2 separate regions of the Homo sapiens genome follow, and region 1 is linked to region 2. The links are contacts of gene promoters, found by promoter capture Hi-C in human tissues and cell types (Jung and others, 2019). All regions are on one chromosome and are shown on one strand. Each heading gives the region's core, a stretch centred on a gene start or on the middle of the fragment in contact. The rest is flanking DNA. Distances are from core to core; before and after follow the strand shown.

The links. Contacts are between HindIII fragments. The study calls those that stand out against the background at their distance.
Region 1: a fragment that was not itself captured here is called in contact with the fragment with the promoter of IL12B in region 2 in 1 of the 25 tissues and cell types used here (hippocampus).

What each region holds. Positions count from the first base shown.
Region 1 is chr5:159,505,120-159,508,340 of GRCh38, forward strand. All of the region lies in intron 1 of LOC124901123 (a long non-coding RNA gene), which reads right to left. Among named protein-coding and RNA genes, the nearest start is that of LINC01845, 40 kb to the left of the region's middle. The HindIII fragment of the contact is 8,633 bases long and covers 1-3,221 here.
Region 2 is chr5:159,329,163-159,332,463 of GRCh38, forward strand. IL12B (interleukin 12B) reads right to left here and starts at 1,325. Exons shown (of 8, transcript NM_002187.3): 1 at 1,270-1,325. IL12B-AS1 (IL12B antisense RNA 1) reads left to right here and starts at 2,356. Exons shown (of 5, transcript NR_037889.1): 1 at 2,356-2,878. The HindIII fragment of the contact is 3,117 bases long and covers 614-3,301 here.

The DNA of each region.
Region 1 (3,221 bases), core at 429-2,928, 180 kb after region 2:
GTCCTCACCTTGAGCCCCACACCTCCTTCCCCATCTAGTGCCCCTCCTAGGTCTGTTCCCCAGGGCAGTGACTCATACTCTGAATTGCTTCTCCCTCCTCTGCCAAACTCCAGCTTTCCCTGGGAGAAAACTATCTGGTAAGCCAGTCACTAAAATCATTGCTTAGTCAGCCACTCTCGTGGGGGTAATTGAAATGTCTTTTAAACAGCATTTATGGTTTTAATTTCTAATTATAAAAGTGATACATATTTATTTTAGAAAACTTTGGGGAAAAAATCTAGGGAAAGTATCCAAGCATGTGGAAGAAAATACGAATCCTGAGGCCCAGGTCACAGCCCAGGCCAATTTGATCAGAATTTCTAGGGATGGTATCCTAGAGCAGGATTGTTTTATTAAGTTCCCCAGGTGATTCCATTGCAGAAAAGGTTCTTTACTTAGAGATACCTGCCAATAATACTTTGAAGTATTCTCTTTACCTTTTATATTGATATTCAGATTATACTGTGTATGTTATTCAAAACGCGAATTTTTTTGCCCAGTGATATATTATGAACATCTTCCCATATCATCAAATATTCTTTGAAAACATGATTTTTAAAACGGGCATGTAATGTTCCATCTTATGGATCCACATAATTAGTTTAGCTAACAATCCATTATTAGACATGTTTCTAAATGTTGTCAATTAAAATAATACTGAGATGTATTTCTACTTCTCTCTCTGATCACTTACTTAGCTCACACATAGCATGTAATCGTATGCTGGACATCATTCTAAGGCATTCCATATATTTCATTTAATCCTCACAACCAGCCTATGATATTATCCCCATTTTAGAGATGAGGAAACTGAGGTTCAGAGAGCCTAAATCACATGGCTGGTAAATGGTGGAGCCCATTCATGCTCTGGAATTAAAATTGTGGGGTTCAAAAAAAAATGAACATTTTTAAGGCTTTTGAGGCACACTGCCAAATAACCTACCAGGAAGGTTGTAATGATTCACTTCTTCACCAGCAGCATGGGGAAGACAGTGCAAGGGTCTCTGAATTTGAAAATAATTCTATAAACCAATGGAATCCCTCCATTTAAAAACCCTCCTTATTGCAGGTCTACTATGTATGGAAAGAGTTTTTTGGAGTAGGGTTTTAAAAAATGATATCTAATAGCTGCATAGCATGGCTTTACAGTTTGTAAGTGATGTTCCAAGCATAAGACAGCATATTGCTTTTGTGGAGGGAGGGAAGGGGGACTGCCCAGAATCCTTCAGCTTGTGCCACCCAGTGGCCTGCCCTGTGGGAGAGTTCTAAGACTGTTCCTGAGCACTGGTCCCTCTCTAATTGTCTTTTCTTCCCACCCTTCTTTTGGGGAAAATGCTTCTGGTAAGACAGAGAAAAGAGACAAACATTTCCAAATGCAGTAGTTAATGGAAGAGGTGCTGTGAGAGGAGAGATGGCATTGTTAGAGCAAAATTTGCTGAGCTTTTGATGTTTTACCAAAGAGCCCAAAGCCCCCTTCCATGAAGGAATCTGACTCAACTCTCTTCAGCTCCCAATGGGAGTGAATGGAGCTGCTTTTCTGGGAGCCCTGGAGGGAGGGCAGGGGAGCCCAAAGGGCCAACTGGACAAGGGAATCCCAAGAAAGGAAGGAAAAGCTAGGCAAGAGAGAAAAGATGTCTGGAAGCCCAATGAGAGGCTCGAGGTGGGCTGATGTGTCTCAATGAGAAACATACAAAGCTCTGCGCACCACCCTTTGGCTCCTGTGTGTATCTGTCAAGTGTGATAATTAGCTTGGTCATTATTATTTATCTTTTGGAAGAGGATTGTGCCTCCCCTGCCATTCCCTCTCCCACCACACATACCTACACTGACATCATCAACCTTTCTGAAGGATTTCCTATTTGTAGCAGGAAAGCAAAAAACTTCCCATGACTATGAGTTTCTTGAGGACAGAGCTCCATGCCTTTTTAAAAAAATTATATTCATTCTCAGCGGCTCCAGCAGGTCAAAATTTTAATTTCCATTCACAGGGCAACCTATTGAGGTTTGATTGAGGCTTCAATGGGAGTTATGTTAGTGAACTCTATTTTGGCTGCCAGCTAGAGAAACTCACTTCAAACTTCCTTAAATATAAAAAAGAGTACTATACACCCATAAAAAAGAATGAGATCCCATCATTTCCAACGACAGGGATGGAACTGTAGGTCATTATGTTAAGTGAAACAAGCCAGATACAGAAAGACAAAAAGCACATGTTCTCACTTATCTGTGGCAGCTAGAAATGAAAACAACTGGACTCTTTGATTATGGCCCAATAAAGGAGAAAGTCCAGGATGGGGAGCAGATTTGGCTAGATTCAGAGTTTTGAAGGTTGTTGTTTGTTTTTCTCTCTCTCTCCATCTTTCTTTGGACTGGCCTCATTTTTTCCTACTTATGAATGGGCTTCCTTCACATGTCCAGAGATCCTTTCTTCGGATTTTACGTATGGGTGCTGAGAGAGAGAAATCCCCTTTGCCCAGGTCATTGCTAATCTGTGTTGCTCATGCGTGGGGGGCTGCTTAAGCCTTTCTCTTGCGTGACCCCAGCTTCACAATCTAATGGAGAGAGAAGACTGCTCTTCCAATGCCCATACACCAATCTCAGAGAGACAGACTGGCTGGCTTAGTTTGAGTCACATTAGGTCAACTGACTACTGTTTCCAGTGGCATGAAGTATCACAAGTGGCCAGACCATTTACAGGACAACCCATGTGGTCAGGAATGGCATCTGTTGCCCAAAGAAAAGGGTGAACAAACAGTGTGTCAGGAAAGATACAACTCCCCGAGAACCCTGTAGTGGTTCAGACTCATGTTTTCCCAGTCCAGAGTCTCAGCTGGTCCAGTTAATTTGGATTTTTATTTCTGTCTCTAATAGCATGTCTTTCTTGCACTTTTCTATCTGCAAAATAAGATAAGCACTCATTTTTATTAAAGTCTGATTTTTTAACCTTTCCTCTTGATTCATTGCTTCCCTGTAATTTTAAAACATGCAGATATCATTATATTTACTGCTATTCTTGAATGAGTAGGTCTACTTTAGAAGCCTCGATTTCTCAACCAGTTGCTTGCTGTAAACTGCTTTAAATATCAGGTCTGGACACACTCCTCTGTTGAAGCAGCCTCTTGAGGGCCACTAATGACCCCTGGGTGCTGAACCCATTGTCCTTTCTTGGCTGCATTGTCCTG
Region 2 (3,301 bases), core at 75-2,574:
GGTGGGCATCTCTTTTTTAAGTTTTGTTTGTTACCTTTAATTAGAAAAGGGAGTTATTATTAAAGAATAAAAAGATATAGTCACAGATGGCATGGGTGGCACATGCAAAGATCCCTAGTTTGAGGGCCAGGCAGACTTCTAGAACTGTGTGACTCTGGGTGAGTCACTTGGCCCCTTTAAGCCCCACACTCCTGATCTATAAAATGGGCATGCTACTGTGGTAAGGAGTTAGTGACATAATTCACGTGAAGTGTCATGGTGCCTAGATGAAGTCAGGACCCACTATTTGCTCCCCTCCTTCCACAGCATTTACTACAATGGCAACAATACAGTCTCTTCTTTACTGTTTGTCTTCTCTGCCACACTGAGTGAACTCTCTTATGCCATGGATCATGTCTATCTTGTTTTGCACTTTACCCCCAGAGTCCAGCACAGAGGGATTCCATGACTTATTAGTAGCATGAAGGAATGTACGGAAATCATACAATTTCAGATTCCAGTAAACTAAACTCTAAGAGGTTACCCACATTCCATCTAGTATCTTGCAATTCCTTGTTTGAAAAAGTGGGTCATCACCTGGGGTTTAGTAATCCCTTTGTTAAAATGACATTGTTGTTGCACACAATTTTACCTGGGCAAGTAAAAAAACCTTTTTTTCCCCCTTCTCACAGATTTAAAAACTCTTTAGGAAGCAATAATAGCTTTTCATTTTTTAACTGGGGCCAAAGTTAGTTAATCCACAAGAATGGGGATCCCAGCTGTCATTTTGGTTGATATCACAACTGACGACCAAGACCATCACAAATATGGGAGCAAGTCTGATTTGTAACATTATTATAATTATGAATCCAATTACTTTAAGGAATGCACGAAAGGCTTTTTAAAAATTTCAATAGTAAGGCAGGCACCACTCACTTTAGCTCTATACAATCCTTTAACTGATGGGCATTAACATTTAGGAATATACTTTTATACATCAATACACACCACTTCAAAATAAGATAAAACAAACATTTCCACAAACTATGCATACACACAGATCTTGCTATACAGTTATTATTAGGTGGCTTTTAAAATGGACACTGTACATCGGTCCCTAGAGTACTAAGTTTTCACTAATGTTCCAGCAGATGACTCACCAGGGATGCTTCCAGGAATCCACCAACTCCCTCCTGCCAGCTGCTGGGGTAGCACACTAACGGTTTCTACACCTGGACAGCTGCAGGCCCACAGGGAGGGGAGGGAGGTAGGGGCTTGGGAAGTGCTTACCTTGCTCTGGGCAGGACGGAGAGTCCAATGGCCCTGAAACAGATGTTGTTTCTTCTGCTGCTGTTGCTGGTACTGGAACTTATATACTCTACTCCTTTCTGATGGAAACTTAAACTAGAAACTGACTTGTTGCAACATTGAAAACAACTCTCAAAACCTTCTGGGGGAATTTCAAGAAGTTCCTTTTTTGTTTGTCTCTCTCTGTGTGTGTATCAATAACGAGGAGGGAACATAGACATCAAAATCCCAGGTAATGAACTAAGAGGAAATGACTTTTGGGTGGGGAATAAGGAAGGAGATGGAGATGCTAATTTCTCTGGGTTTACATCATGGCCAAGGTGCTTGGAGACAGCACTAGGCAGATTCCCTGGGTTCCACAGATCGAGGAAGAAGGAAGGCCAAGGGGCGGTCAGACGGGAGGCTGAGTTCATGTCGGGATGGAACAACTGTATGCCCAAGGGCTTAAAAACAAAATCCTGGTTCTTCCCAAGTCAGAGAGGATGAGATGAAGGGCAAAGGGTTTAGTACATCTGGGGCGCCTTCCTCCACATTAGTCCTTTAATTTCAGAAACATACTATTTACCACCCATCTTGGCTCCATGCACCTCTCCCCACATTCCCCGAGTGGGAACACACGCGTGCACACACACACCCATGCACATTTCATACAGACACAGACCTGGGGAGATGATAAAACTGCGTGTACCACTAATAAGACTCAAATATGTGCACATCCTGTGCTCATAGGTACTCGCTCATAGGGGCGGATGGGAGCAGAAAGTGAAATACCCTCAGGGAGGCATACAGACAACCACACTCAAGGCACCCCCCCTTGGGCACCCAGACTACATCCTCATTTCATTTGCACACAAATCTATGGCCCTAGGGGCTCCGTGCAGATGCACAGGAATAGCGGAATAAAGATATCTCTCGTGGTGGAATTTCAAGTTGCTAAGAGGTATGCAAAGGTGTACACCGGTGTGGACCCCCCCATCCCCCGCCCAGTCTGCACGTGAACAGGAACATGTACCTGCACGTATACCAGGTACACGCAGACAGATGCGGGCCATCCCCAGAGCCGCCGACAGAGGTCGCTGCGAGACGGTACCCGCGCCCCACAGTCCACCCGCTCCTCGGAGTCCCCCCGCGCCCCGGAGTCCACCCGCGCCCCGGAGTCCACCCGCGCAGGTCCACTTCTCCATCCCTGCTCTCGACCTCCGCCCCTGCGGTGGGGGAAGTTCCTGGGGCGGTGGCTGGGACCAGGCCGGGTTTTAGGCGGGCGCAGATTTCCGGGCTAACTTTCCTCGCCGTCTCAGCGCGGGAAGGGGGAAATGGGAAACCCGGGCCAGAGCAGCGGAGCTTCCCAGCCGCACACTTCCTCCCTCCAGCCGTTTGTCTCGGCAGGGGAGGGCCCAGGCAGCCAAGCCGGCAGGCCCACTGGTTATCCGACCTTGTGCTCTGGCCGTGGGTGGAGACCTTACATCCAGCTCAGAGCGCCTCCTCCCATCCCCTGTGTCCTCTAGGCCTCCCCAGACTTTGCCTTTTAGCCTTCCAGTGAAACAAGTTCTGTATCCAAGATATACAATTAAGTGGACAAAGCAGATTGCAGGTATGTTTTTTCGTATGATACCATTTGTGGGGTGTGTGTGCGTATGTGTGTAAGTGCACCTGCACTTTTCACAACTGGTATCTCTGAGGCATATGTAACAACTGGGGGAGGGGCTTTTTGTAAACATGTATTAATTTCCTCCGATCCATCACTAAAGTGTACTGAACAGAAATTGACGTGAAGTAGTTTCACTAATTTATTTACAGTGGCTGCACCACCACAGATGAGTCCTTGTGCCCCCCCATAAATAAATACATGCATAAAATAAGACAAGTAAGGTTCAAAATGACACAAATATTTTATTCATGTGTTCGTAAAAGCACCTTGAAAATTAAAAAAAAAAAACTGTAACGTAAAGTCTCAGTAAAAATCCAGCGCCAGTTATGCAAAAGAAGCTTCGAAGTATGCCCTCATCCTCCCTTT